5 separate regions of the Homo sapiens genome follow, and regions 2, 3, 4 and 5 are each linked to region 1. Evidence: promoter capture Hi-C in 16 types of primary human blood cells and fetal thymus (Javierre and others, 2016). All regions are on one chromosome and are shown on one strand. The core of a region is centred on a gene start or on the middle of the fragment in contact, and the rest is flanking DNA. Distances in the headings are between cores, read along the strand shown.

Region 1 (5,990 bases), core at 1,204-3,703:
TTAAGCTAATTAAGCCTTCCTTTACACCTAACTTCCAGTTAATAGGAAATTCAGGGAGAAAGAGGAATAAACGAAATGACATTAGGAGGGCACAAATCCAGAATGTGGGTATATTTTACAAGACAACTGGTTTGGTCAATTACGTGTCAGAAAAAAAGAAGGGAGGGAATATTCATCCTATTTAATTTCCCCTGCAAAAAGAAGAGGGGATGGATACTCTTCATTTTACAAAATGACTAAAGACTTAATCACCAAATGCAATCAATGCATGAATCTTGACTGACTACAACTGGGGGCAGAACCCTCAAAGACACTTTGGAACAACTGAGGAATTTTGAAGATGGAGTTGTTAATTTTGATAGGCATTAATAATGATACTGGGGTTAGTAGGAGAATGTCCCTATTTTTAGGAAACACATGCCGAAATATTTGAGGATTACAGTGTTTGCAGCTTACTTTCAAATAATTACACACATACAGAGAAAGACAGGAAACAATATGGCAAAAATGCTAATCACTGAGTTGGTTATTCATTGCATTGATTAGCATTTTTATTCATTGCATGAATAACCGATCACAATTGTATAGAACGAACCTCTATACGACTAAAATTTTTCATAACAAAGTTAATAAAATTGTACTTCTATTGAGAAGTACGGTAGAAAGTACACGAAAGTACATCTATACTGGAATTATATTTGGGTTGAAATCTAAACTATCTTACTAGTTGTGTGCCCTAAGGCAAGTTGTAATTCTTCGTATCACTAAGTTTGTCACTTCTATAAAATTCAAGTAATAATATCTGCATCATTAGGTTGTTCTGAGAATTAAATAATTACAAATGCAAAAATGCCAAGCAGTACTGCACAAAATGAATAATCTGGTTTTCATAATTAATCAGTACATTACTAATAATCCTAAAATACAAAACTAAAGGACTACGTTCATTATATTCACATTCTATGATAAGGGGAAACTACATTAGGTAAAATTATTATTAATCCACTGACAGTCCAAGTGAAGTAATGGGGGAAATGAAGATTTATACAGTATTTTTTAAACCCAAGAATTCCAACTGAACACCTAGAGAAAAGGAAATCAAAATCGTGCAGCTTGCTTCCGGTATCAGCCGATCTCCAAATAAAGCATTAAGAAAATAAGTGGAAGTTATGGAGAATTTCTTCCTGACTTCAAGAGATTATCTACTTACACGCTGAAAAAGAAATTAAGTTTTTGTCTTCATTTTTGTAAGTTCCAAAAAAAAGCACACAATTACGGGGTTTTATTGTAAATTCTGCTTGGATTCATAGAACTCACATGGACGCAATTTCCTTTTAATCAGTTCTAACGTACCTGTCATTTCTCGAGGTAACCCCTTTTTCTGATTAGGCCAGCAATAAAACGACTAGATGCAGAGTGATCCTCAGGAAGGAAAGGAAAAGAGGTGTGTGTGTGTGTGTATGTGTGTGTGTGTTTGTGTGTGTGTATATATATATATATATATTTTTTTAAAGAAGTGCCATCTTTTTCTTTCTGTACCAGAGAAAAAGCAGAAGGGGAAAGGAGGAAAAAAAACAGGTCTGAGCCTCCCGGGTTCGACCAGGTGAGAGGTGGCAACACTCCGGCCGCTCCGGGTTAGGGTGTTGGGCAAATGGGCGTGCAAAGGACGGGCAGCTCCCTGGAAGGTCGGGGTAACTGCTCCGGGACCGCGGGGCCCAAGGCCGGTCTCCTCCCAGAAGGATTAAATGCCACCGAGGGGATCCCGTGGGGTGTCTCCCGGCGCGGACTAGGCTGACAGACCCGGCTCTCCGCTCCCTTCGGCGCCAGGTGGGGGCCACGCGGTGTCAGCCACGGGCAGCGTGCAGGGGCCGTCCCCCGCGCGACCGGAGCCCGCCCTCCCCTCCCCGTTACCTGCGGGCGGCGGCGCCGGGCCCGGAGGCCTGCTGCTCCTCCTCCTTCTCCCGCCAGGCTGGGGCGGCGAGGCGGCGGCGGCGGCGGCCCGGGGGGAGGGGGCGGAGCGCGGCTCGCTGCCTCTCTCCTCCCCCGGGAGGCTCAGGGGCCCCTATCTCGGGCCGCCGCGCCTAGGCCCGTGAGCAGCCTGTGGTGGGGCATGGCGGCACAGCCACCGGCGTGCCCGCGAGTGGGAGTGCGAGGAGGCGGGGAGGGAAGCACCCCCAGCGCTCGGAGGGGCCAGAGGGGAGGAGCGAGGGGGCCCGGGAGCCGCGCGCTGGCGACCGTTGGGGACGGTTGGCCGAGGGCAGGCGGTTGTTTGGGGAGCGCGGCGACGGCTCGCGTGTTCCCAGCGGGGCGGGGTGGGGAAGGGGAAGGGGACTGAGGGGAGGGGAGGGGGAGGTTGGGAGGGAGCCGCCGCCGCGCGCGTGCGGCCGGCGCCGCCGCCGTTGCCGCTCCGCTCACTCCAGCCTGTTTGGGGGCACTTTGTTTGTGTCCCACAATGCTCTGCGCCGGCGGCCTGGCTGGGGAAGGGGAGGAGAAGGGGGCGGGGCGGAGCGCGCTCGGGGGCGGGGCTCGGGGCGGGGAAGGAAACGTGATGATTGCGCAAGCGCAGAAAATGGGCCCTCTTGGCCGTCGGGACTTGTACTGTTGGTGACTCCGTCTCCTTAGACGGTGGAGCCTGCGTGACCCAGAAAGGCCGTGAGTCTTGACACTGTATTTTTGCATATGTGCGCACATGTGCCGATTTACATTCACATGCCCCATAAGCCCTGTCCCATTTGTCCTTCCTCTAAGCCGTCCTCTTACCCAGTTCCCCTCTCACACCTGAGAAGCATTTCTCCGCAGGAGTCACATTTATAGCATTATTTTTTTCTTCGAACTAAAAACATAACTCCTATTTTCTCGGGTAGTTTTTGTAGGGAGGTCGAAATAGAAACACTTCAGCCCCTCTTCGGCGAGGGAGGTTAGTTGGTAAGGTGCCCATTGTTCACCCATGGAAACAGGCCTGCCAAGGGCCGCCCCGCAGACAGGTGAGCCCGCGCCCCCGTCCTGGGCGGACTGCGACATGCGGCGGGTGTCTGGATTGCGTGGCTCCTCGGGCCTCCTCGCAGTGCTTGCTCTCTTCCGTTCTAGCACTTGCCTCGGTGACCTGGCAGGACGTGCGGTTCTTGAGATGAGTGGAGAAACGGACTCCCAGGTCCCTCTCGTTCTTCCAACACAGGGACAGCTAGAGCTGCTCCAAAAATATACCCTACTTCTTCCACAACCGTGAATCTGTCATTTTTACTGCACCATCACTTACTTCCTGGCCTTCCCGGAGGAAGTGTGCGGGCCTCCCCGAAGTAACCGGTACCGCCCGGGGGGTTTTGAAGTTCTTGGTCAACTGCAAAATCAATCAACCTAGTTAACTCCTAGGGCCCTAAGTCTTGGCTTCCCCTGGCCAGGCGGGCGAGCGCTCTCCACACCGCCCCCGGAGGTCATAGGGGTTCCCGGGACTGCAGGCGGCAGCGCCCCAGGTGCCTGGGGGCGGGCGGGGTGCGGGCAGGTGCTCCTTGGGCGCTTTCTGTTTTCCCACGCCTCCAGTTTGCAAACCGAAAGACTTCTTTCCAGAGGGTTTTGTGCAAGGTGGGTGGACGTCCCGCTGAAGTAGAGTGGATTTTCCTTTTGAAACACTTGGCAACATCTCACATTAATTCACTCTGAGAGACAAGCAGCCAAGCACCTGAACACCCTGACACTTGCAATCTTCTTTAGGAATAAAGGCAATAAAAACAACTTCTGTTTTTATAGTCCTTCGCAGTTTCCAACAAGTTTTCAAGCATGTATAATGTTATCTAATCCTTACGGCAACTGTAATTCACAGGTTTTATCACAGGTTTCTATTATTATTCCCACTATCATTCTTATTATTCCCATTTCAGAGATGAGAAAAATCAGAAAGATGCGAACTAGGCCCAGAAACTTTTGCACTAAGTTTTGAAGAGGGGAAGGGAAAGAAGGCGGAATGCTTACCTGGGAGAGGACTGGCGGCCACAGAGCAGGGCTCAGGAAAGGGCATGAGCTGGGGCCCTGGTGAGGAATGTGTGAGAATGTATGTAGGTGGTAAGCAACTGGACAAGAATCAGGGTGGAAATGAAGTAGTCAAATCCTATCTACCTCTCCTAGTGCCTTTAACAGGATAGTCAATAAAAGACCATGAGGCAAGTCTTTTCTAAGTGCTTCTCCAGGGGCTGTGGTGGCAGCTCCTCAACTACTACACTGACACAAAAATTTGCTTTCCTTTGTAGTACAACTTGAAGTCAGGTAGAGGAATGCCTCTAGCTTTGTTATTTTTGCTCAGAATTGCCCTAGCTTTTCAGGGTCTTTTGTGGTTCCATACAAATTTTAGGATTTTTTTTTCTAGTTCTGTGATGAGTGTCATTGATATTTTGGTAGGGATTGTACTGTACCTGTAGGTGGCTTTGGGTAGTGTGGATATTTTAACAATATTAATTCTTTCAATTCATGAGCGTGAGATATCTTTCCTTTTTTTTTTTTTTTTTTTTTTGTTCTCTTCATTTTCTTTCATCAATGTGTACACTTTTCCGGGTAGAGATTTTTCACTTCCTTGCTTACATTTATTGCTAGGTATTTTATTTTGCTTTTTTGTAGCTATTGTGAATGAGATTGTTTTCTTGATTTCTTTTTCAGATTGATGGCTGTTAGCATATAGAAAATCAACTGTGCTGGGTGTGGTGGCTCACGCCTGTAATCCCAACACTTTGGGAGTCCAAGGCAGGCAGATCACGAGGTCAGGAGTTCAAGACCAGCCTGGCCAACATAGTGAAACCCCATCTCTACTAAAAATACAAAAAAGTTAGCTGGGAATGGTGGCACGCGCCCGTAGTCCCAGCTACTTGGGAGGCTGAGGTGGGGAATCACTTGAACCCAGGGGGTGGAGGTTACAGTGAGTCGAGATCGTGCCACTCCAGCCTGGCGACAGAGCAAGACTCCATCTCCAAAAAAAAAGAAAAGAAAAGAAAATCAATTGATTTTTGTATCCTTCAACTTAACTGAATTCGTTCATCAAAGTTCTGAGAGATGGAGTCTTTAGGTTTTTCTAAATATAAGAACAAGTCATCTGCAAACAAGGATAATTTGACTTCTTCCTTTCCAATTCAGTTGCCCTTTATTTCTTTCTCTTGCCTAATTGCTCAGGTGAGGACTTCCAGAAATATATTGAATAGGAGTGGTGAAAGTGGGTATCCTTGTCTTGTTCCAGATCTTAGTGGAAAGGCTTTCAATGTTTTCCTGTTCAGTGTGATATTAGCTGCGGGTTTGTCATATATGGCTTTTATCATTTAAAAACTTTTCTTCCCTTAGATTATTCCCTTGTCTCCTCTGCCTTTTCCACTTAAAAAATTTTTTTTTGGAGACAGGCTCTCATTGTGTTGTCCAAGAGTGCAGTGGTGCAATCACAGCTAAATACAGTCTCAAACTCCTGGGCACAAGCGTCCTCTGGCCTCAGCTTTCCAAATAGCTAGGACTACAAGTGCGCCACTGTGCCTGGCTAATTTTAAAAATTTTTTGTAGAGATGGGTCTTGCTATGTGAACTTGGGCTCAAGTGATCCTCCTGAAGTGCTGGGATTACAGGCATAAGCTACCATACCTGAGCCCTTTCCTGCTTTTCTTTCTCATTTAACATTTAAATATTTTATCATCCTTCCACTCCACCCCCACCTCAGGTCTGAAGAATTTATTAACGAACAAATGACCGTGAGGCCCTTCAGAGCTCAATGCTAGATGCTTGGAGAGGGTGTGAGAAAATCTCAAAGAAGATTAACTTTGCAGGAGCCCTCTTGTCTGCTTTGGCTCTGGGCAGGGTCAGTTTCTGTGGCTTCTGCAGCCTCCCACCTTTTTCCTTCTTGAGCTGGTAGAGACTTGCCTCTGGGTTGCTGGAATATACACACCTTTCTTTGACACTAGGTTAAATAATACTGCTGGGAGGATTTTGTGAAATCAGAATCCTGTACACAGGTGAAAAAAACAAATGTAG
Region 2 (5,990 bases), core at 2,571-5,070, 4.7 Mb before region 1:
GAGTGCTAGAAGAGTGCCTTTCTGGGCTACTATGTCTCTGTTCTCAATGTCTTTTATCCTTAGACGCTCTTTGACTTTATAAATCAGCAGTTTTGAAGACTCAAGACAAACAGTGAAATTATTGGTTTATCAATGGAGAGGAAGAAACTCTTCCAGCATTACATATAGAGCTTGATGGTCAGTAGGTGTTTTTGAATCAGCTTAAATATAATCATACATATCAATTTGAAATGGAGCTTTTCAGTACTCTCACTTATTCATGACACAGGAATGACCCTTTACTCAAAACTCTTGTGGTTGTTCAAAGGTGAGCTTCTTTTTCCCTTAGTCTTAGCCTATGTGTTGCTGTTGTATATTGTTACCAAGTTCAACTACCTAATTTTGAAGCTCTTTCCAAATAAGATACAAATTAAAAGGGGAAGCATTGCCAGTAACAGGTCCCTAGAGAGCAGTGCCAGCCTGCCTGCAAGAAAAGAGGAGAAACTTCTTAAAAAGTTTTAAGCCTGGGCAACATAAGGAGATTGTTTCTATGAAAAATAAAAATTAGCCAGGTATGGTGGTGTACACCTGTAGTCCCAGCTACTCGGGAAGATGAGATTGGAGGATCACTTGGGCCTGGGAGGTTGAGGCTACAGTGAACTGTGATTGTGCCACTGTACTCCAGTCTGGGCGACAGTGAAATCTTGTCTAAACAAAAACAATTTAACTGGGAAGCACAGTGGTCCTTGAGGACATTTAATATCAGGACAAAGAGCCTATGAATATATCACTGATGTATATAAACCCTAAGGCGTTAATAAAAGCTAACTGTTTAGTGTTATCCATTTAAGGGAACAGGAGGAATTGCATAACTTTTAGATTAGTCATAGTGGTGCTCCTAAGGGATATGCTGTTGTATATTTGTATAGCCAGGGCACTTAGCCTTCCAAACCAATTTATATACCATGTTCTTCAACTGTGGGTGAGATTTAGCCTCAAGATTTGATTTACTATATGTAAGTACATTACTTGATTTCTATAAAGAATCTTTAGTGGAAGAGGTTATTCTGAATTATTTATCAATATGATTAATACCAGTTAGAAATTATTAATGATCTTCCTTTATACTATACATAGGATAACTTTTAACTTGTCGCTACAGTTGTTGCTCTGAGGATCTTAATTTTGTTACTTTCTAGGCTACATGAAGCTATCTTTTTAAAAAGTGTACTCTTCATTTTCACTGTTATTGTGTACTTAGCATAAAAAACTCAAATCTAGGCCAGGTGCAGTGGCTCATGCCTGTAATCCCAGCACTTTGGGAGGCTGAAGCATGCGGATCACTTGAGCCCAGGAGTTCAAGACCAGCCTGGGCAACATGGCTAATGAACACTAAGCATAGTTTTGATGTCTTTCATATTAAAGACTTTCTCAAATTCTTGCTAGTCTGCTCCTCTTTAAGAGTGGGACCCTAGGCAGGGCGCAGTGGATCATGCCTGTAATCCCAGCACTTTGGGAGGCCGAGGCAGGCAGATCACTTGAGGCCAGGAGTTTGAGACCGGCCTGGCAACGTGGGAAAACTCTGTCTCTACTAAAAATACAAAAATTAGCTGGGTGTGGGGTACACACCCTGTAATCTCAGCTACTGGGGAGGCTGAGGCATGAGAATTGCCCAGGAGGTGGAGGTTGCAGTGAGCAGACATCATGCCACTGCACTCCAACCTGGGAGACAGAGCAAGACTGTCTCAAAAAAAAAAAAAAAAAAAAAAAAGAGTGGGACCCAAAAAAGCTGATTGAAAGGTCTGTTTGTAGGGGGTGTAGATGGGGATTAATAATGTGGGTTTCAATCTACTGTGATCTGGCTGGGCTGTTACATTGGGAAATCCATGATACTGATTTTTAGATTTTTATCTTTTGCATAGGTAAGATTCCCTTGAGAAGGCTTGCATATTCTCTTACTCAAGGATGTAAGCCAGGCAGTCAGCTTTCTGGGAGTAGAGTAGGGAAAGAAGTTGTAACAGGCTCAACCTTCAGTGGATAAAACTTAAACTTAATCCCTCCGTTTTCAGTAAGGTGCCCAAGCTTTTAACTGTGCCTAATGGTCTCCAGTTCACATACTGTGCATTTACCCTCTTAAATCTCGTACCAGCTTTGGGGAGGGACAGTTCCTTGGTTACATAGAAAGGGAAGGGATACGGGGATCTATTTGTTTTTTATGTAGCCTTTAAACCTACCCCTTTTAGCCCCATTTTTACCTCCACCTTCAGTTACCTGGTGTCACCAGTTCAACTTGAGCTTTTTCAGAGTTCTGTGATGTTAATTCTGCTTTCCATTGCTAGCTTTGGGATTCATCTTCATTACCTTTCATCTAAAGGCTTTCTGCTTTCCAAAATGTGTCTCATACTCTGTTCTTATGGGTTCTTTTAAATATTGGTATCCTTTACTATTAAAATATTTTAGTGGGCTTTCAGAAGAGAATAGAGGCTATTTCTATGTATTCTGTCTTTAACTGGTATTCTGCTGGAGTCTGTATATCTTTTTTTTTTTTTTTTTCAGGCTAAAAAGACTCCATCAGACACACAGGAAATTTGCAGGTCTTCCTCTTCGTATTCTTTGTTTTCAGCACACAGTGAGGAAACAAGAGAAAATGGGATAAATGATATAAAAACTTGCTTTTATTTTTATACCAGGCCCTGTGGCTCGCTTCTGTAATCCCAGTGACTTGGGATGCTGAGGTAGGAGGATCACTTGAGCTCAGGAGTTCCAGGCTGCAGTGAGCTAAGACTGCCCAATTGCACTCCAGCCTGGGTGACAGAGCAACACACCCTGTCTCCAAAAACAACAAACTGTAAAAAGATTACATGAAGCCTAATCTGTGATGTCATGATTCAAAACTATACACATAAGCATTTTAAGAGTTTTTTCCTTGATTTTTGTTCCTGACTTTGCTTCTTTAAAAGAAATGTGTGTTTTTGTTGTTGGTTGTTTGTTTTTGAGACGGAGTCTTGCTCTGTTGCCCAGGCTGGAGTGCAGTGGCACAATCTCTGCTCACTGCAGCCTCTGCCTCCTGGGTAGCTGGGATTACAGGCACTCGCCATCGTGCCCGGCTAATTTTTGTATTTTTAGTAGAGACGGGGGTTTCACCATGTTGGCCAGGCTGGTCTTGAACTGCTGACCTCAGGTGATCCATACGCCTCAGCTTCCCAAAGTGTTGGGATTACACGTGTGAGCCACCAGGCCCCGGCCTTGAGTAACATTTTATACTTGTTTCACTTTACTATTATCATAATAGCCAGTTATGCTTAGTGTTTGTATGTGGCCCAGTCTTAAGGACTAAGAAAATATATATGTATATATATAAAATATATACATATAAAAAAATATGTTTTTTTCCTACGGAATCATGCTGTTGCCCAGGCTGGAGTGCAGTAGTGCTCACTAACCTCTAACTCCTGGACTCAAACGATTGTTCTGCTTAGGCCTCCCAAGTAGCTAGGGCTACAGGGACACACCACCAAGCCCGACTAATTCCTAAATTTTTTTATTTGTAGAGATGGGGTCTCCCTATGTTCCCCAGGCTGGTCCTGAACTCCTGGCCTCAAGCCATTCTCCTGCCTCGCCTTCCCAAAGTGCTGGAATTACAGGCAGGAGCCACTGCGCCCGGCCAGTGCTGGAGAATGTAATGGAGATGATCCTGCCTATCCCTGAGTTCCAGTCTAGTTTACTGTCAGAGAATACTTATTTCCATTTTTCCTATTTTGTTCTTGAGTCTCTTTCCTCAGAATTTACTTTTCCACTTAAATGACGTACGCAGCTTTTAAATTTGCGTTGTAAGATTTATTTTGGCTCTCCCCGCCTGTTCTTTGCACATTAAAAATGAAAAAGTTTGTAGAACTAAGCTAAGCAGATGGTCTTCCTGCAAAAAGACCGGGCTGAAGTAAAGCATTGTTTTGGAGCTGGTTCACAGAAAAAAGGCAAAACTGGTTATCCTGACTTCAAGCTCCAACATAAACTGCTCGCTTTCTCCGGGAAACTTGCCCCGCCACACACACTTGACTGCGTGGCCAGTTCTTTCGAAGCCTCTCGCTCCCAACACGGAGTTCCTCCCATTTCTTCACAGTCGGCTCTCAGCAGCTGCTGCTGGTTTCTCGGCTCCAGCACCACGAGTACCGCACTCTGAGGTTTACAAAGCACTCTGCTTCACCGACTGTGATCCTCACAGTCCTGTCCGGTGGCCTCACGCAGGTGGCGGTGCAGCCTTTCAGGCCCAGAGCGGCCAGGAGCGAAGCCCGCAGCCCCGCCTGGAAGCGCAGCGCGGTCGGTCGCGCGCCCCTGAGGCTTGGAGGCCTGGGCTTCCCCCAGCAGCGCTCGAGCACCGCCCAGTCGAGCCTCACACCGGATGCCACTTCATATTTGGGCCCAGAGCTCAATTCGCGCCGATGCGGTCCGCCGTCCTTAAATCTCTTCAGCCAGGATCTCTCCCCGACTGCAAAGCAGCCCTGGGCGGGAGCGGCAACATCTCCACGTCACCCTTTTGGAGCCGCCGACATTCAGAGGGGCAGGACACGGGAACGCGCGCTGTCTTGCTTTACGGCGCGGGTGCGCGAGTTTGCGGCAGCGTGACGCCCTCAAGTTTTGGCGGGAAAAGCGCTGCATTTGGATTCCTGCAGTGGTGGGCAAAGGACAGTCCGGTGAGGAAGGGCGGCCGGTAGAGTAGGGAAGGTTTCTAAAGAAGGAGTTCGGGGTCTAGATTAGTGAGGGAGGGCATGGTGGGAGAAAGTTAGCATTGACTAGCGCAGGGGATTGGAGAGACTCCTGCGGAGGGGCGGTTTCGGAGGGTGGAGGAATGGTACCAGGAGGTTCCCGTTGTGGGGGCGGGGGCAGGAGGGACTAACCCGCTGCTAGCTAAGAACCCCAAGGAAGAGTCCCAGCCCTTCCTTTCGCCTCTGGGGGCAGTTTGGCCCCGCCCCGGCCTTTGGGACGGGTGGGGCTGTGGATGGGGATGGGAATTGGAATTGAGCAATTGGGAGGAGGCGCTGCCGCAGGCGTTTTCTGCCCCATACCGCTCCCTATATCCTCTTCCTCTCTTCCCCAGACCCCCACCTCTCCCTCCTCCTTCCCCAGTCGTTCGCCGGAAAGCATTTGTCTCCCACCTCTTCATAACAACAATTAATTTCCTCTGGGGCCTGAGGAGGGCAGAATTTCAACCTTCGGTGTGCTTGGGAGTGGCGATTGTGATTTACACGACAAAATGGTCAGGTTTAGAATAGTTGTTCGTGGTTGAAAGACTTGGATAAATGTGGATGAGATAGAAGGGGAAGGCAAGAGCTGTTAATTTTCGTGGGCAATCCTGGGGAGAGGCGGGGCTCAGTGGCTTCACTGGTGATCTTACACTCTACATCTTTTCTGGATTCCTGCCTTTTACAGCCGAGGTGCTCGGTGGAGTCATGGCAGTGCCCTTTGTGGAAGACTGGGACTTGGTGCAAACCCTGGGAGAAGGTGCCTATGGAGAGTGAGTTCTTTTAAGCTTGCCTTCGTTTTCTGAGTGCATATTCATTGTTTTGGAGTCTCACACTCTGGTGATTTAGAAAGTAGATGTTTGAGATCCAAGGGTTTTGGCAACTGAAGTTACACAGCCTTTTGCTAGGATTAAAAATTTTTTCCTTCCCTTTAAAAAAAAAAGTTTTCTTTGTAGAGAGCTGGAAGGGACACGAAGTTATTGTTTCCATGCCCACAAATTGCTTCTCAGGGTTTAAGCATTGCGGTTAATGAGCAAATGAGCAGACTCTGGAGATTGCCTGCCTGGTTTCAGATCCTTGCTCTATCACATACTGGTCATTGTTTTGTGATCTTAGGCAAGCTTCTTAATGTCATTGTGTACCTCTCCTTCACTACCTTTAGGGTGGCAATAATCGCATCTACCCCATAGGAGCTTAGGACAGTCAGTTACACAAGCACATATAGTATGGGATTAATGCTCTTAAAAGTATATGAGTAGAACATGTATATAT
Region 3 (5,990 bases), core at 2,428-4,927, 4.4 Mb before region 1:
CTTCAGTAGCCCCAGGGAAGCGACCTGCTCTTCCTGTGCAACTACAGTACCCACATGTAGAAAGTAATGTCCCTTCAGAAACAGTCTCTGAGGCCTCCCAAAGACTCCGAAAGCCAGTGATGAAGAGAAAGGTGCTGCGCAGAAAGCCAGATGGGGAAGTATTAGTAACAGATGAGTCGATTATCAGTGAATCAGAATCTGGTACAGAAAATGATCAGGATCTCTGGGACTTAAGACAAAGGCTGATGAATGTACAGTTCCAGGAAGACAAGGAATCTTCATTTGATGTTTCACAAAAATTTAACCTACCACATGAATACCAAGGAATTTCTCAAGATCAGCTCATTTGCTCTCTACAAAGAGAAGGAATGGGCTCTCCAGCTTACGAACAAGACCTGATTGTTGCCAGCAGACCCAAGTCCTTTATTCTCCCAAAGCTGGACCAGTTAAGCCGAAACCGGGGCAAGACAGACCGGGTAGCCCGGTATTTTGAGTACAAACGGGACTGGGACTCAATACGTTTACCTGGTGAAGATCATAGAAAGGAATTACGCTGGGGTGTCCGAGAGCAGATGCTTTGTCGAGCAGAACCCCAATCCAAACCTCAGCATATATATGTCCCAAACAATTATCTAGTACCAACAGAGAAGAAAAGGTCTGCACTCCGTTGGGGTGTTCGTTGTGACCTTGCAAATGGTGTCATACCCAGGAAGCTTCCCTTCCCTCTTTCTCCTTCTTAAATCTTTTTAAACTTCTTTCACAGGATTGTTTGAGATAACCTAGCTCTTTATATCTTCCCTTTTAAATAGAAACAACTGTCTTGAGAAGCTCTTCGAAACATTTTATGGTAAGGACTTCACCTATCATTGGTCTTTCCTAGCTATATATCACATTGGTATCAGATGATACTTCCAAATTGCCACTCAAATCCAGCAATTGCAAGATAAATCATATCAGAGAAAGAACAACAGACCTGGTCTTTCTATTTTGTCAAATTAGTAAGGGCCCTTTGTGTCCTGTAACTTTTTTTACCTATCAATATGAGTTGCTGTGCTTCAGTGTGTGTTTTTTAAGTTGCTGGGCATTACACTTACCAATTAAAGAATTTTGGAAATTCATGAACTTGAACATTATTTCATGAAATACTTGCCTAAGATGATCTTGAACCTGGGCTATGATGAGAGCTCAAAAGAAGGAACAAGCCGGGCGCGGTGGCTCACGCCTGTAATCCCAGCACTTTGGGAGGCTGAGGCGGGCGGATCACGAGGTCAGGAGATCGAGACCATCCTGGCTAACACGGCGAAACCCCGTCTCTACTAAAAATACAAAAAATTAGCCGGGCGAGGTGGCGGGCGCCTGTAGTCCCAGCTACTCGGGAGGCTGAGGCAGGAGAATGGCGTGAACCCCAGGGGGCGGGGCCTGCAGTGAGCCGAGATTGCGCCACTGCACTCCAGCCTGGGCGACAGCGAGACTCCGTCTCAAAAAAAAAAAAAAAAAAAGAAGGAACAAAAACCTGCCTTTTACATAGTCCTAAAGGATGGGAGAGGTTAACAACATGGATAGCCTCATTACTAAAGGTGTACAACAAATCCAAGTAGCTTTAAAATACTTTCTAACAAATGCCCCAAAACAGTACCATATAACATACAGGATTCAAACTTGTTTTATTTCAGAATTATTTCATTAATATTTTGCCTGCCAGCTGTTATTTCTGGAATACCATTCTTTTTATAATTTGCCCCTGAGATTTTTGTAGGAATTATGCATCATTTGGAAGGGTATTCCTACTCCAGTAGAAATTCAAACTAGTAACATCTGGAATCAGATGCAAACATAAATACCAATATGAACCTAGCCTGTTTGGGTGCAGATCAAAATAGGAATTCTGCTCACCTTAAATTGTAATTTATCTGTTCTTGATATTTCTGACCCAACGGGGACCATCTAAAATCTGAAAGTTGTCAGTTTTAACACCAGAGGCCAGAAGAATGATAGTACAGTTTGCTTGTTCACAGAGAAAAAGTTCTAACATAAAGGTGAATGACCTTGACCGTTACTATCTGCGAAAATCATTTTCCCTGTAACATTTAAAGCCACATAATTCACACATTCACCCAGTTCTATTTGTTAGGCATTTGTCTGGAAAAGAAGTAATCAATGACTCAGGTACATGTAGGATATACTCACCGCAAAAAAGTAGAAACTGCAAACTGTCCACCAACAGTGGAATAGTAAATGTCTTTAAAGACATTAGAATATTAAATAGTCATTGGGAATCTTGGGAAAGTAATATGGGAAGGTGAAATTAAGTGACATGAATGTATCATAAACTATACAGGATGATCTCAGTACACACAGGGAAAGATCAAAACCTAACGAGTAGTGGGATTAAAGGTAATTTGTATTTATACCTCGACTTTTTATGAGGTCAAAAATTACATGGTGATTTTAACATGCAAAACACTCCAGTGATTATTTGGATCTCAAAGTCCAACATTACCAAAGTCTCCAAAGTTCAACTCCCGTGCTAACTAAAGAACTAGGCCAGGGAGTGAGTCTAGTTGGTCATAAGGCAGATTTGTGGCAAAAACAGGACTTGGTACACTACAGTGCTTTTTCCAGCACACCTTACCCTAATTCAGGGTGAAGTGCAGGAGTTCCCAAGCAGACGTTTAAAGTAACACCCTGGCCAGGGCTGCGAAGTAACCACAGAGAGGGAATTCGTGTGTCCCCTAAGCACCAATTACAAACTAAAACGGCCATCACCAGATGTTCCATACATTGGGCCAGGCGCCGTGGCTCACGCCTGTCATCCCAACATTTTGAGAGGCCAAGACGGGGTGGTGGCGGGGGGGAGGGGGGGTCGCTCGAAGTCAGGAGTTCGAGACCAACCTGGGCAACACAGCGAGACCGTGTGTTAATTAAAAAATTAAAAACTAGGCTGCCAAGATGGCGCACGCCTGCAGTCCCAGCTAGTTGGAGGCTGAGGTGGAAGGATCGCTTGAGCCCAGGAGGTAGAGGCTGCAGTGAGCAGTGATCACGCCACTTCACTCAGCCTGGGCGACAGTCTTAAAAAAAAAAAAAAAAAAGTCCTAATCTCAGGAACCAGTGGGTTAACACATAAATAGCATTCCTCTTGATAAACTTTATATTAATCCAAAGGGAAGAAGAGGGAGTACTGTCCAAAGGATTAGCAGACACGCACTATGATCACTAGAAAGCAATCGTGGTCTGTATGTAAGGCAATCCCCAAAATAATTTGAAAATTGCTGCCACAGCCTCCCACATACTCCTGGGTTCTCAACTTCTACTGTTTTATGAGCACCCAATTCTAAGTGGGGCAGCAGAGCACTTTTGTACTCCACAGTACAAGTACCACTGAAGCTCCCGTCACAACGGAATTAAAGACGACCCTACTGCGGCGAGTTTCCACCGAGAGCTCCAGAAAGTACCAGGCACAAAAGAAAAATACATGGTCTTAAGCGAGGTCTCATTTCCATACGGCAATGCTTTCCTGAAAAGACCAAAGTATGTGAAAGAGGGCAAAAAGAAGACAACAGACAACCGTTCAGCAGTGTGTCCATTTGTCCCTTCCCCTGTGGAACCCAGAAAGTAACCCACTCCAAAAATCCCACACTTACTTTCCGGCAGCCGGCCGCGCCGCGTTTCCGAGAAAGGAAGCTGTCACTGTGCGTCTTCTGCGCAGGCGCCCGAGCCCTCATGGGAGGTGTAGTCCAAGTTTGTGGGAAATGTAGTTCTGAGAACCGAGCTTGGTGCTAGAATCTACCTGAGGTTTTCTAGTCCAGCTACCGTTTCTCCGCCCACAGGGCAGAATCTGGGCCTGTGGCGGGACAGCAATAAAAGGAGGAATTGTAGTGCTACGCTAAAATAATAGAAAAAAGGTAATTTTTCAAATTCTGCTATCCTTATACGAAAACTAAAAGATTGAAGATCTTGGCTCGATTTTATACCTAGTTAAATGAGAAGAAAGTTACCATTGAGAGACAAAAACATTTACTATTAGAATTCAAATTAAAAGCTGAAATGAATATGATAATCTCAAAACAAACGACTAGGTGCCCTGAGAGTGACCGAACAGAGCGGGGAGCGTTGCTTCAGCACCACGGAGAGATCATGACTGCAGTTTCGTGTGGGTTTTTGTATTTTTGCCCCCAATTCCAGAAATGCTGATCAAAATCTCAAAATTACAATTAGAAAACTGGGGGGCGGGGGGGAGGTGGAATTTGGTTCTTTCGTCCAAATTGAGCGGTCATTAAATCATTAGTACCAGGGATCCAGGGATCTATACCGGATTATGCAAACGCATGTAGGACGTAGAGGTTATACCGAAAGGTAATGTTTTTAACAAGAGACCACATTTCAGAATAAAAGCTTTAAAAAGCCTATGTGGAACATCACAGGTATCTAGGGCAGGAACAGCAGTTAGAGCTTGAACAGTTCTGCTTCCTTTCCGCAACTGTGGCATTCGAGGTCATTCGTCATATCAAATTCATCAGATTTTGTCTCCACTTTGCTAACCAATTCGCTAACCTTTCTGACATCTTGTGATGTGGAGGCGGAAATTTCCAGGGAAACCGACACGGGGCGTAAAGCGCGGCGGGGAGTCCGGGGGGCTCCCGCCTGGAGGGCTGTGTGAGCGGCGGGCCGCGGGGCGGCGCGGGGGGCGCTCTCCACTCTGCGGAAGCTGCCCCCTCTGCCCTCCGGTCCGCGCCCTTTCGCCCCGCTCTCTGCCCTCCGCCCCGCTCTCTGCCCTCCGCCCCGCTCTCTGCCCCCCGCCCCGCTCTCTGCCCTCCGCCCCTTCCGCGCGCCACCCAGCCTTCCAGCGCCTGCGCGCCGCACCGCGGTGGTCGCGGGCGCGGACGCGGACGCCTGCCCCCTAAGGAAGCCCATTGGCCAGCGGATGGGGCCAGCACCGCCTCGCGCCGGTGGTGGAAGCACGTGCTGGGGGCGGGAGCAGCAATCGCAGCCATGGCGTCGTTACTGTGGGGAGGCGACGCAGGGGCGGCGGAGAGCGAGCGGCTGAACAGCCACGTAACCGCCACCGAGCCGGGGGGCCACAGCCGCGGGGGTGGAGCTCCCACTCGCAGAGGGAGATCGGCTGGGAGGGGAGGGAGAGCCCGCGAGCGTTCGAAGTGGGGCGTCAGATGCTGGAGGGGAGATGCGGGAAGGGTTTGGAAGAGGGCCACAGAGGGAGACCCCGTCCCCACCCCCACGAGAGGCAAGACCTTTGGTTAGAAAGGGCAAAAATGACGACCCCTGGAAATCCAGGGTGGGAACGCAGCTGGTAGTCCCAGCTAGACCCCGAGTTTTCTACTCTGCCCATTTGCCCATTAAGCCTCACCTCGCTTCCATCCATTTGCCAGCGCACTTTCCTAGCCACCCTCCCCTTGTTGGTGCCGTGAGCCCCAAGTACTGCCCAACTCTAAACTAGAGGCCTAGGAAAGAGAAACTGCATGTACAGGGAATACAGAAAATCTCCAATTTTAGGGTAACTCATACAGGAAACCCAACCTTGAAAGGAATCTGCTGCTACCTAATATTGCAAAGGAAGCAATACCCGGGTGTCCTTCCCTGAATCCCTCCCAGCCCCTGTGGTAGGGAAGCACTGGGCTGCTTGAGGGCTTGCATCCTAATATTGGTTGAAATTTGTGTCTCTCAATAGTTTTCAAACCTCAGCCAACCCCGGAAGAACCTTTGGGGTATTAAGAGTACTGCAGTCCGAAACATAGGTGAGTGCTGTTAGGGCAAAGCAGAGCGACCTCAATGATTAAAAAGTATTGTTTTGCTTTCATCACGTCCCTGCCAAGTGAAACACCGCGGATTCATTAGTGTGACATTCAGCACTCTCCATTACCTTCCCAATCGTTTCGTCCATTCCTCCATGAAATGACTCTTCTTGCCAGTAGACACTGAAGAGTCAGGAAGAAAAAATTGAATAGCATGCTTTACATTTGTGCTCAGCATTTGTC
Region 4 (5,990 bases), core at 261-2,760, 4.1 Mb before region 1:
CTTGGACACATTACTTCTCTTTCCAACTTTGCTTTCTCGTTATAAAATGTAAATATCTGGAAAACAACTTCATTGGGGAATGGAAAGGCAAAAAACTGTTGCGAAAATAAAGAGAGAAAAAAATTATACAAACACTTGGTGATGTGATTTAATTCCTTGTCTTTGTGAACAACTATCTCCGTATCTCCCCAAAAAGCATTACCTTCTTCTAGCTAAAATGGGCCTTTTCCCTCTTTCACAAATGCATTTTTTAAATCAATCTTTCCTGATTCACTTCAGCTGTCCCTGACAACTACATGCAACATCTGTTGAAAGACATTTGAAGGTCCACTAAATTCCAGTCACTCTGGGGTTGTATGTTACATATACTCCAACATACATACACACACACACACACACACACACACACACCCCCTTTTTTCTTATGTATCATTTTCTCATTCCCAGTTCTGATGGAAGATAACCTTTAGTCTAGAACCACACAGCCTTTGTATATCTCTACAGCGATCCCTGTAGTCTGCACACAGCGTATTCTACGAATTGCTTACTGTCAGATGTTTAGAAAGGGAGGACTGTCTTATTTATTTATTTCTGTGTTCTCGGTGGTTCCTTATATTGGACGGTAGTTTACAAAAGTTTAATTAATTTGAATGCAAGGCTTTAGAGTGCACCACAAGTAACGTCTCAGTTTTCCTCGGTTGTAGCAGAAAGCAGCTGCAGGTTCCTCCACCTTTCCCGCGTGGTCCTTACCATGCACAGGGAGACCGTAGGGCTTATTGATGACCACAAGGTTCTTGTCCTGGTGGAGAATTCCTCGGGTCAGTGCCTTAGCAAGCACGTTGGGGTGGACTCGCTGCAGCTGCCGTGTGAACCGCACTATTTCTTGCACTCTCCGCTGAACAGCGTTTGTGGACACCTAGGGAGAAAGAAGGAGCCGTGGGGAATGCCTGGTGCGGAAGCCGTGGAGAAGACCTTCCATAAAGGTCTGGGTGAGAATCTGAGTAGGGAATGACTATCTTTGCATCAGACCCGCGCCGCCTTCGACTAATTTGAGAGCAGAGATACCCATCTGTCTAACCTGCGTACCGACGCAGTGGTTAGGACTGAGCCTGACAGTAGCCAAAGATCCAGCTCACGGGAAAACACCGTACCCTTACTGACCCCTCCCCTCCGCCTTCTCCCCATTCTCCCACCTTGCGTCCGGGCTATTGACTCACACGCTTTCACTCAGAGGACCCTCCTACCTACTCCCCGTCTGGGAAACCAATGAGCGCACTGCCTCTAGGGAGTTCTGGTCCCTTTGGACTCACCGGCTCCTTCTTTGTGTCTTGTTCCCGTTTCTGGGCTCGGAGCTTCTCCGCTAATCTCTGGGCATTTATGGCCGTAGAGGCAGCGGCAGCGGCACAAAATGGCTTTGAGACGAGAGTGAAGAGACTCCCGCAACCTTGGCCGTTTCCCCGGATCCAGGGGCCCGACGCGCTCCACCTGGGCGCCGCCATCTTACAAGGAAGGGCGGGGCGAGCCAAGACCACGTGGAGAAGGGCGACTACAATGAGGCGGGAGTGGGTGGGCCCTGCAGGTCACGTGGTGCGGGGTGGGGCCTGGGCGAGTCACGTGGGGACGGTGCGCGCTCAGTGCGGCTGCGCCGGCCGGTAGCTGCAGCTGGAGCAGTGGCGTTTGGAGGAGACTCGGTGAGTGTGTAGGGAAGCCGGGCTGGGGCTGGGAAATGCCGGTGCCTCAACGGTTTAACGTTTTCTGCGTCCCCGGGATTTCCGTTCAAGAAGAGCACTGGTCTGAGAAACGTTTCTCCTTTTGGTACACGATCCCACTCAAAAACTCCTCCCCGCCCCCGCGCCCCCTTAGGAGCGATGTCCCATAAACGCTCGCCCCAGAGCCCTCCTAGGCACCGACGCCGTCCCTCTTAGCCACTGAATCTCCGGTGATCCGCCAGTCCCCTGCGGGACGCGTCGGGGACCCTCTTGATCGGATGCCCGGATCTCTGTAGTCTCTCCACCCTTCATCTTCCAACTCCCAGCCTCTTTGTTTCGCGTTGTAACCTGTACCCTTCTCCTAAGGATGACGGCCCCTTCCCTTATCCAGGGCCCCCAGCACCTATTTCCTACTTAGGAAGCACTGTGAGTGTTTTTTCTGCCCTTCCTCAAGAATTCATTTCTTGGGGGTCTCCTCCCTACCTTCCCTACTCCTCCTAAAGAAAAAGCTGAAAGAACGGAGCACAGACCTTCACTTTTCCTGTTTCCTTTATTTTTCCTCTCCATAGTTTGCAACCACACCATACCTCCTCTCACGAGATGCGATGTTGGGATTCCCTTGCCCGAACTGCAGGCGACTCCCTCTGATTTCACTCAGGGGTGGCTGGGAAGATAAACATCTGTTTGGGATGGTAGTGTTAAAAATAACTTGGGATATACCTGCCATTTGTTAAGAGGAAAGCTTATGCTGAGTTCAGAAAGAATGTCCTGAAAACTAATGGATCTGTGACGATAGAAGGAACAATTTTTTAAGACTGCTTGGAATGAAGGCTGCCTGAGGAGTTATTAGAGAATAGGTAGTTGAATTAGATTTGGGTTCTACACCTCCTAAAGGGTTTGGCAGAAGGGAGCCGTACCAACAAGAAACAAAGTTGATCAGGTGGAGCTACTCATAGAAGACTCAAGTTGAAGAGTTTGAACTAGAGGTGATACGTAGTGAGGAGTCTTTGAAGCTTTTCGAGTAGGGCAGAGAGACTCCTTGAAAGTGGAATTCTGGAAATGAATCTGGCAGTTGAATGCAGGACAGATGGGGAAGGAAAGGGTTTGATAGTGGGGAAGGAAAGGGTTTGATAGTAGGAAAACTAGTTACAATCTAGGTGGTCAGTGATGAGGTCTGGTCTTTTCCCCCTACACTGTAACTCCTTTGAGTTTGAATTAATTGAGTTATGCAGGTCAAGGCGTACTCTTGGCAGCTGCTGTTGATCTGTGAGTCCCTGGAAGAATTTTTTTTTTTAATCCACTCACCTGGCACATAGTAAACTCGATATCTGTTAGATGGCTGAAGTGCATCATAAATGTATGCTAGGTGTGTCTGAACATTTTGAATTGTCTTATTTCTGTCAATGTTTGGCCTGAAGAATGAAGGTAGAGGAAGATGTATTTGTAAAGTGGGAAAGAAGCAAGGCTTGTGTACGTTTCTCTTATAAGGCAGGTGTAAATGCAGATCCAGATACAAATGCAAAGATTTCCAAGGGAGATTGGGAAACATCTGTTTCTCCTGTTCCCCACCCACCCCCTGCAAATTTACCAGTAAGACAGAGGTCTATAAAAGTTGAGAAATTCCACCCTAAAAGAATTATTACCTTCCATGCTCCAGACCTAGGTTCTAATTTCACTTGAACATCACATATTACTTAGATACTTGAAGCTCAATTTTCCAAGGACCCTGAAGTTTTGACATCGGGACTTAAATTCATATCATTACATTAATTAAAAACTTGTTTTGGGTACAGGACTTTTATGGTTTTGTGTCGGGGATGGGAGAGGCTGTTTCTACCCTAACCTTATGGCATTCAAGAAACTACACCTGTTCTTGCAGAGTTGGCCTTCTGTGGCGGGAAACAAAATGAAGAACCAACTCAAATGTCATTGCTAGTGACACAGAGCTTATGCTCTAGGGTTTCAGGTTAACTCAAAGCACACACTTAGTGACTTAAGAATAAAAATATTGGTCCCTTTTTTCTGGAGAAGGAACTTTTAGGTTTGTCTTGTTGAAACTTTGTAGAGAAATTTAAAGAATTCAAAGTTTTTGTTTGGTATGACAGTGCAGCTTTAGCCAGTATGGGTACATAAGTTATGACATCCTTAATGTTTCTCCGGTGAGTCTAGGCACTTGGTGATTTAAAGTAGAGTTGTTCTCAGTATAAAGAATTTATGTGGCCGGGCGCGGTGGCCCACGCCTGTAATCCCAGCACTTTGGGAGGCTGAGGCGGGCAGATCACGAGGTCAGGAGATCGAGACCATCCTGGCTAACATGGTGAAACCCCCGTCTCTACTAAAAATACAAAAAAAAAATTAGCCAGGCGCGGTGGCAGGCGCCTGTAATCCCAGCTACTCGGGAGGCTGAGGCGGGAGAATGGCGTGAACCCGGGAGGCGGAGCTTGCAGTGAGCCGAGATCGCATCACTGCACTCCAGTCTGGGCAACACAGCAAGACTCCATCTCAAAAAAAAAAAAAAGAATTTATGCAAATGTCATGTCTTTTTTTTTTTTTTTTTTCCAATTTTCAAAGAGCAATAATCACCCCTCAGATAAACCTCATTGGCTGCAATACTGCCACTGCAAAAAACTCTTTTGTTTCTGTTTTTTTTTTTTGTTTTTTTTTTGTTTTTTTTTTTTTACCTCTATATTGCCTCCTCCCTGTTCCTCATTCAGCTGGTCCTTTTTTAGGCAGTTCACTTTTCCACTTCTGCGCCAATGTCACAGTCCATTTGTTGGGAACTCCTCTTGTCTAAATGTTTTCTTAGAACAAGGAAGGAAATTCTATTAGTGATTTCTTCATTCTTGCAGACTACGGCTCTGTTCAAACATGACTTATTTACATTGATTTTGATATATCATAATATGTGCCCCTAAAGTAACCATATAAAGAAGAACTTGATAGTTTCTTTTTAAAGATATTTCCTAGTCTATTCAGGAACAAAAAGGCTGCATTAGTATTTCGCAAATATAAACAAACAAGGACTAACTAATAAAGGAACTTGCGTTTATCACAAATTTAAGGTTAATTAGTGGTATAAAGTTAAGTTACGCCTCCTCAAACTGTGATTTGCTAGTTGCAGATTAACCAGCGATTCCATTTCCTTGAAGAGCAGGAAGTACTTGGACATTGTTTTATGGTTTTAGAGAGATTAAAGGAGGCAATTAGCAGGAACTCTTGGGAGGTGCCCTGGAAAGTACAGTCATTGGGAGCCAGGAGATGTGGGACTAGTTCCAGTTCAGCCGCTGCGTACTTGAACAAATAATTTGGGCTTCAGTTTTTTGTCATTTGAAAGATTTTTGCAACTCTGTTTCTAGTCTATGAAGATTTTCCACTGATACTGAAATACTTCTCTTTCAGCCCGAATTAGTGGGATTTATTTCAGATTTATCTTGAATACATTTAGCATTGATACTAAGAAACTGGATTCTGCTCTTGTCCCCAGAATTTAACTTTTTGCCACTGAGCTAATGTTTATGTTTGGAGGTTACTTCATTGAGTGGTGTTGGAATATACTTTTAAGATTTCTGGCCAGGCGCGGTGGCTTACGCCTGTAACCCTAGCACTTTGGGAGGCCGAGGTGGGCGGATCACGAGATCAGGAGATGGAGAGCATCCTGGCTAACACGGTGAAACCCTGTCTCTACTAAAAATACAAAAATTAGCTGGGCGTGGTGGCAGGCACCTGTAGTCCCAGCTACTCGGGAGGCTGAGGCAGGAGAGTGGCGTGAACCCAGGAGGCAGAGCTTGCAGTGAGCCAAGATCGCGCCACTGCATTCCAGCCTGGGTGAAAGTATGAGACTCCGTCTCAAAAAAAAAAAAAAAAAAAATGTCCTAAATGGGGGTGGGGTGCATGGCTCACACCTTAATCCCAGCACTTTGGGAGGCCTAGCGGGGAGGATCTTTTGAGCCTAGGAGTTTGAGATCGCCTGGGCAACATAGCAAGACCTCGTCTCTACAGAAAATCACAAAATTAGCTGGGCATGGTGACGCACCTATGGTCCTAACTAACCCTTGAGGCTGAGGTGGGAGGATCATTTGAGCCCGGGAATTCAAGGCTGCAGCTGCAGTGAACCATGATTGCAGTACTGCACTCCAGCCTGGGTGACAGAGACAGACCCATCTCAAAAAAGAAAAAGTAATTTGTGTAATACAGTTTAAAAGTCAAATAGTAATAAAAGATTTGGAATTAAAAAACAGTTTCTCAGGCCAGGTCCAGTGGCTCATACCTGTAATCCCAGCA
Region 5 (5,990 bases), core at 990-3,489, 3.9 Mb after region 1:
CAGGTCAAGGGTCTCACCTTCACATCTACACCTTTCTCTAGGCGGCTCTCTGGCTCTGACTTCATCAGCCAGTGGCTGCTTAGATTCTTCAAACAGTTTTTAGTGGCTGAAGTCTTCTGAGGGTTGGAGTCCTCCACTTTAGCTAATGCCTCACCTGAGTTCTCAGTTTTGGTGCGTTTTCCTGATAGTCCCTTGTCTGCAATAGGAGAAGCAAAAAGAAAAGATCATGCTTGTTAAAGGCAATGTTTCATAATGGAAAAAGCTTAGCTTTGGAGTCAGACCTGGATTCAAATCATGGATCCATTACCAGCTGTAGGAACTTAATCTTACTGTTAAGAAGCTTTCCTTATCTATAAAAATTAGACAAGAATACCTACCTTACAGGGTATCTTCTGGATTATCTATTCAATAGGGTAAGAACACCTTACAGGGTTGTTCAGGATTAAAGGTCCGGACAGTAGTCAATACATGTTTTCCTTTCCTCACTCTCTCTTCTATGCCTTTGCATAGGAAAGAGGAAACTGAGCACCTACTTGCAACTATTTTGAAGCTTAAATGAGGTAATACAAAGGGCCTAGACAATGCCTGGCATTACAATAAGTGCATAATAAAAGCATTATTATTCTCATCTCATACGTCTTTCCTTCTTGCTCACTGTGGCTCCTGGCCCATCTCCTTTCTGCTCCTTGAAGGTGCCAATAAAAGTTGAAAGAAACAGTTCATTCAGGACATTGTAGAAAAATGGTGATGATTCGATTTCATCCCAAGACAATCAGAATGTGCCTGGAACACAGTAGGCATTCAGTAGCTAAGTTGTTAAATTACTATATGACAGGGCCCAAGGTCTATGTGTTACCCTAACCCTAACTCGGTTAATCTACATAACCTGTGAGATGTTCTACTCTTCATCTGGGAAGCATGCTCCAGATCACACATCCAGTAATGGTGGAATCAAGATATGAGGTCAGCACCTGTCACTGAGGTCTATCTGAAGCTACTTAATGACTATACTGCCTCTGAATTTAGTCAAAGTCCCTACATCAATTGTCATTAAATACCATTTATGGCTGTCTAATGCTCTGAACCCAGCATACCTTCCTAACCTAGTTTCCTAATGGCCCCTTAGGAGTTAACAGGCCCACTGCAAACACCACATATTGATAAATAACTGCAATGTGCTGTAGTATATCTGGAACCCCTGTCATTCCCAAAAGAGGTACTTTCTGTACCTTCCAATGTTCCTCCTCCTCCATCCACTTAGAATGCCATCCATCTTTGTGATTATAAAAACGACATCACGTTTTCTTAGTACTAAACTTTGCCCGTGGAAAGTCTCCCATTCTTCAAGGCTGGGCTCAAATTCCACATCCTTCTCGAGGCCTTCCCCGTGATTCCTCCCTCCATAAACTTAACAATCCATTTTCCTGAACCCCATCACATCTGTTTGCAGTTCACCCGCAAGCAGGCGCTTTATATTCTTTAGCACGCCACCTGGTATCTCAAAGAGTCTTTGTGCACAACAACCATTGCCTGAATAAACAAGAAAAAGGAACTGTAGGTAGGAGCTTGGTGAGACAAGTAAAGAAGATGGAGAGTGATTAAGGATAATGGAGTAAAAATATCACAAAGGGTTCTCAAAAAGCAGGGAGTGAAAAATGAGTACTAAACAGGCTCTTCGAGAAAAGTTTTTTCTTGGGCTGCCTTTGTGCAGCCTAGGGGCAGCTCACCTGAACCAGAAGTCCCAGCCAGCCTCTTCCGGGGTCTCGACATGGTCACGCTGCAGGGGACTTTAGTGCGGACGATTCTGGAATCAACGGAGATACAAGAAAGAATGCTAATGTCCTCCAAAACCCGCGCAGAGCGAGATGGAGGCAACGAGAGGCAGCCTAGAACGTCTCCAACTTTTGCGAAACACAGACGCCTACGTTTGAGCCCTCAAATCCTTCCCTCCGTTATCTGCGCCATTTCCATCTCGCATAACCTGCCCCTAAACTCTTCTCGGTTCTGTCCTTGGTCCTTCTCATCCAGGAACCCCTATCTCAGTATGTAGTTCACTGGGAAGTGGCTCCACAGAGACACTTTTGTTGGGTGAATATAAGTAAGCCTTGTGTTACCTTGTTATCCTTGCTAATTAGGATCAACTGAATGGATAATCTAGATGATGAAGTAATTTGCTGGCTACAGACCCAACACTCTGCAGACTCGACTGCGGTCCGCCTCCGCTGCGCCGCAGGCTGTGCAGCGCGACCCCCGCGGCGCTTGGTGGGCGGTGCATCTCTGCGGCGCCGAGGCCCCGAGGACTTCTGGGAATTGTAGTCCTGTCCCCTTGGGAGCCCGCCTGGCACCTGGGTTGTTAGGGCTCGTGGGAGGACTACAACCCCCAGGGTGCAGTGGGACAGGCGTTGCCGGGTCGCAGGTCCCGCCAGTGCGAGCGCAACGGAGGTCGAAGGCGTTCAGACTCTTAGCTGAACGCGGAGCTGCGGCGGCTATGCTGTGGAGCGGCTGCCGGCGTTTCGGGGCGCGCCTCGGCTGCCTGCCCGGCGGTCTCCGGGTCCTCGTCCAGACCGGCCACCGGAGCTTGACCTCCTGCATCGACCGTAAGGATCTCCTGGCGGGCAGTAGGACAGGTGTCCAGAACCCCGGCGGACATATGTCCGCGAGGGGCTGCAGTCTCCCCGTTCCATCCAGTCACCCCGGCGTCAGCTCCCCTTCCGGCCAGTCACCCCCCCGGCCTGGCTCCCTACTCCGGCCGGTCACCCCCGGCCTGGCTGCCCCCTCCGGTCGGTCACCACCATCCGGGTCCCCATCTGGCCCGTCACCCCTGCCCGGGTCCTCCTCCGGCCGGTCACCCCCGCCCCGGTCCTCCTCCGGCCGGTCACCCCCGCCCCGGTCCTCCTCCGGCCGGTCACCCCCCGCAGGTTCCCCTCCGGCCGGTCATCCCCCCGCAGGTTCCCCTCCGGCCCGGGTCCTCCTGCGGCCGGTCACCCTCGGATGCTTAGAGAAGTGAAGAAACTTGGGGCTTGGTTGTTGTTGGGTTGGTTGGTTTTTAATCATAACAGTAGGTCATAAAAGCAGTGAGAATATAAGAAGCTGGCTGGGTGCTGATGGTGACAACTGCACAAGAACTCCAGGTCATACAAGATTTGCTCACACACAAAGATTTGGTATCTTAACACCTCTGGCTATAAGACACTTTTAGTGTTGAAACTCATGCAGGAAAAATAATTATTATTGCCAGTGGGAAACTCTACCAGAGCTGACAAACTTGAGTGTCTTTAGGCTCTGAACAGTAATTTGAATGTAGCGAGGAGTGGTGGAGACCCGGCCAGTTTGTGACTTCTCTGCCAAGAATGTTTATAAACACTTTTTTCTTCTGAAATATTTTTAAATTTATTTTAAATAAATGGCAGTTTTCTTTACAACAGAATAAGTCCCTTAGATATCAGATCTATAAAGTACAGTAAGGCATAGAATACTGTTTTCTTCTGAATGTCCTAAAACTCATTCAAGAGGTGCTGCCCTGGCCTAGCGCTTAGAATTTGATAACCCAGATTACCCTGGTTGATACCGAAGCAGATAAGGAATTATTTAGAGGTGGGTTTTGTTATTGTTTGCATCTTGCTTACACTTGAGTGGCTCTGCAGTCAAAGGCTTTTCCCATTTCATTTGGAGTGTTTTTCTATTTAGCTTTACCTTTTTAGTGTATATGTATTGGCATCTTGAGCTCTGCTAGTAACTATGTATTGGCATCTTGAACTCTGCTAGTAACTGGCAAAGTTCATGAGTGGTGGTATTTGTTTTGTTTTTATACTGTATTTCCTTCTGGGAACTTGTGTTTACTTATGCATATGATTTGCATAAAACTATTTCCTTCCATTAGAATGCAACTCAGATTTATTTCTTAAGCCTGTGGTTCCTTGAACTATTTGTTTTAGGAAGTAGCCATTTACAGAAGAAGAAGATTTGTTAACATTTAATGAGCTCTTGCTAGGATTGAAATAGTCATCCTTTGTGTGAATGGATCTTATTTATTTATTTTTTTGAGATGGAGTCTCTTTCTGTTGCCCAGGCTGGAGTACAGTGGTGCGATCTCAACTCACCGCAACCTCTGCCCCACGGGTTCAAGCAATTCTTGTGCCTCAGCCTCCCAAGTAGCTGGGATTACAGCACATGCCACCATGCCCAGCTAATTTTTATATTTTTAGTAGAGACGGGGTTTCACCATGTTGGACAAGCTGGACTTGAACTCCTGACCTCAAGTGATCCACCTGCCTTGGCCTCCCCAAAGTCTGGGATTACAGGCATGAGCCACTGCGCCTGGCTGGATCATATTTATTTTTGTAACCCCAGCACTGCTACCTAGTAAACACCCAATAAACATTCTTTTGGAAATGATCTTTGAGCCATGGTCTACAGTAACAGCAACCCTTGTACAAAATTGTGTGAATAAATGGCCTGACCCCAGTCAGAGAACCATGAATTGTTTATCCCTAACTCTGTTCCTGAGGGTAATACCCAACATAGGTTTCTGCTCTGAGTTTCTCAAGGCAGCCTAATCGTTAATCCTCAGAACTCTTCATTTCTGACTTTCCCATTTTAATGAGAGTACTGATCACAGAAAGCAGTGCCCTCTCCAGGCTCGCATAGCCAGCCATTACTGATGCCCAGATTTGCCCCAAGGAACAGACTCTGGCACCTGCCCTTGTGTTCTTCTGTGAGGACTGCATCGCTTGTAGGCACTGAAGTAAATTATTGCCAAGTGTGGCGCCATAGTCTTCCCATAGTGCTCTTTTTTCTTTTTTTCTTCTTTTGAAACAGAGTCTTGCTCTGTCACCCAGGCTAGAGTGCAATGGCACAATCTCAGCTCACTGCAACCTCTGCCTCCTGGGTTCAAGCGATTCTCCTGTCTCACCCTCCCAAAGTAGCTGGGATTACAGGCATGCGCCACCACACCCAGCTAATTTTTGTATTTTTAGTAGAGGCGGGGTTTTTCCATGTTGGTCAGGCTGGTCTTGAGCTCCTGACCTCAGGTGATCTGCCCGCCTCGGCCTCCTGAAGTGCTGGGATTATAGGCGTGAACCATCACGCCCAGCCCATAGTGCTCTTCAGTGTCAGTTATAATGACCAAAGTTCTAGCACTGTGGCCTCAACCTCTAGGTCTACAACTGCATTTTACTAAGTGCTAGGATAAGAGATGTCTGGAAGTCCCCTATCCTGTTCTAGGTTGATCTGGATGTGTGCTAGAACTGTCCTTTCTCCATATGACAAGTGGAATAACGACAGAAGCTGCCATTCTCTAGCTGTTAAAGGCTATACCGTGTATGGGAAATACTACAGTAGATCCACTTTCACAACTTCGTGGTGCTTCTTGTTGGCAACACCTTGTTGGCAACACTGACCCTGTCCTAGAACAGTATATGCAATCCTGCCCACAGCTTCCATGGGACTTAATGAAGAGCAGAAAGAATTTCAAAAAGTGGCCTTTGACTTTGCTGCCCGAGAGATGGCTCCAAATATGGCAGAGTGGGACCAGAAGGTAGGCGTTTTTCTTGTGCTTAGACGTTCTAACAACAGATGTCTCAGGCAGACCTTTATCTTTGTCTCCTGATAATGTAATTGTTAAATGTCTCCTCCACTTACCAACTCTTACTGCAAGTGAGAATACCGGTAGTGGATGATTTTTCCTAGAAGGCATCCTGATCATCTTGTACATAACTTTTTTTTTGTTAGTTGAATAAAGATTTGGATATAAAACTAAGGCAGTTCTATAGATAATAAAAAGAAACTTCTTAATGCCAGAACAAGTTTTTACAGGACCCATGTTAACTGATAACCACTGTAAGATGACAAACAGGCATATTAAGAGAATTCATACGCTGTCGCATGTGCAAGCCTCCTAATCCCTCACTGTGCCCTCTAAAAGGAAGGCCGTCTCTGAATCAGCTGCTGATCACCCTGCTCTCTTTTGTACATAGGAGCTGTTCCCAGTG

The links. The method cuts DNA at HindIII sites, captures the fragments that hold promoters and counts their contacts. A CHiCAGO score of 5 or more calls a contact.
Region 2: the fragment with the promoter of CHEK1 here is called in contact with the fragment with the promoter of ZBTB44 in region 1 in 1 of 17 cell types (fetal thymus); the score reaches 14.4 in fetal thymus.
Region 3: a contact is called between the fragment with the promoter of PUS3 here and the fragment with the promoter of ZBTB44 in region 1, in 7 of 17 cell types (fetal thymus, non-activated CD4 T cells, naive CD8 T cells and 4 more). The highest score is 12.2, in fetal thymus.
Region 4: a contact is called between the fragment with the promoter of RPUSD4 here and the fragment with the promoter of ZBTB44 in region 1, in 11 of 17 cell types (neutrophils, total CD4 T cells, activated CD4 T cells and 8 more). The highest score is 16.5, in neutrophils.
Region 5: the fragment with the promoter of THYN1 here is called in contact with the fragment with the promoter of ZBTB44 in region 1 in 1 of 17 cell types (erythroblasts); the score reaches 6.8 in erythroblasts.

What each region holds. Positions count from the first base shown.
Region 1 is chr11:130,312,464-130,318,453 of GRCh38, forward strand. It overlaps ZBTB44 (zinc finger and BTB domain containing 44), which reads right to left and starts at 2,454. Exons shown (of 8, transcript NM_001301098.2): 1 at 1,912-2,454. ZBTB44-DT (ZBTB44 divergent transcript) reads left to right here and starts at 2,530. Exons shown (of 7, transcript NR_148980.1): 1 at 2,530-2,652. RefSeq lists enhancers at 1,608-1,657, 2,818-2,917, 3,088-3,187 and silencers at 1,748-2,577, 3,488-3,547. The HindIII fragment of the contact is 9,181 bases long and covers 1-5,990 here.
Region 2 is chr11:125,621,343-125,627,332 of GRCh38, forward strand. CHEK1 (checkpoint kinase 1) reads left to right here and starts at 3,821. Exons shown (of 13, transcript NM_001114122.3): 1 at 3,821-4,670; 2 at 5,407-5,491. The coding sequence starts at 5,427. LOC118567325 (a long non-coding RNA gene) reads right to left here and starts at 4,552. Exons shown (of 1, transcript NR_170378.1): 1 at 3,795-4,552. STT3A (STT3 oligosaccharyltransferase complex catalytic subunit A) reads left to right here. Exons shown (of 18, transcript NM_152713.5): 18 at 1-1,749. RefSeq lists enhancers at 3,987-4,496, 5,313-5,856, 5,417-5,466. The HindIII fragment of the contact is 3,445 bases long and covers 2,060-5,504 here.
Region 3 is chr11:125,899,529-125,905,518 of GRCh38, forward strand. It overlaps PUS3 (pseudouridine synthase 3), which reads right to left and starts at 3,678. Exons shown (of 4, transcript NM_031307.4): 1 at 3,642-3,678. HYLS1 (HYLS1 centriolar and ciliogenesis associated) reads left to right here. Exons shown (of 3, transcript NM_001134793.2): 3 at 1-1,118. The coding sequence ends at 740. DDX25 (DEAD-box helicase 25) reads left to right here and starts at 4,980. Exons shown (of 12, transcript NM_013264.5): 1 at 4,980-5,052; 2 at 5,684-5,750. The coding sequence starts at 4,990. The HindIII fragment of the contact is 3,679 bases long and covers 712-4,390 here.
Region 4 is chr11:126,210,140-126,216,129 of GRCh38, forward strand. RPUSD4 (RNA pseudouridine synthase D4) reads right to left here and starts at 1,511. Exons shown (of 7, transcript NM_032795.3): 1 at 1,311-1,511; 2 at 751-916. The coding sequence starts at 1,499. FAM118B (family with sequence similarity 118 member B) reads left to right here and starts at 1,643. Exons shown (of 9, transcript NM_024556.4): 1 at 1,643-1,691. It also overlaps the pseudogene RNU4-86P. RefSeq lists an enhancer at 1,296-1,525. The HindIII fragment of the contact is 5,382 bases long and covers 1-2,449 here.
Region 5 is chr11:134,251,113-134,257,102 of GRCh38, forward strand. It overlaps THYN1 (thymocyte nuclear protein 1), which reads right to left and starts at 2,240. Exons shown (of 7, transcript NM_014174.3): 1 at 1,728-2,240; 2 at 18-196. The coding sequence starts at 1,770. It overlaps ACAD8 (acyl-CoA dehydrogenase family member 8), which reads left to right and starts at 2,456. Exons shown (of 11, transcript NM_014384.3): 1 at 2,456-2,597; 2 at 5,436-5,536; 3 at 5,976-5,990. The coding sequence starts at 2,489. RefSeq lists an enhancer at 2,001-2,370. The HindIII fragment of the contact is 5,608 bases long and covers 549-5,990 here.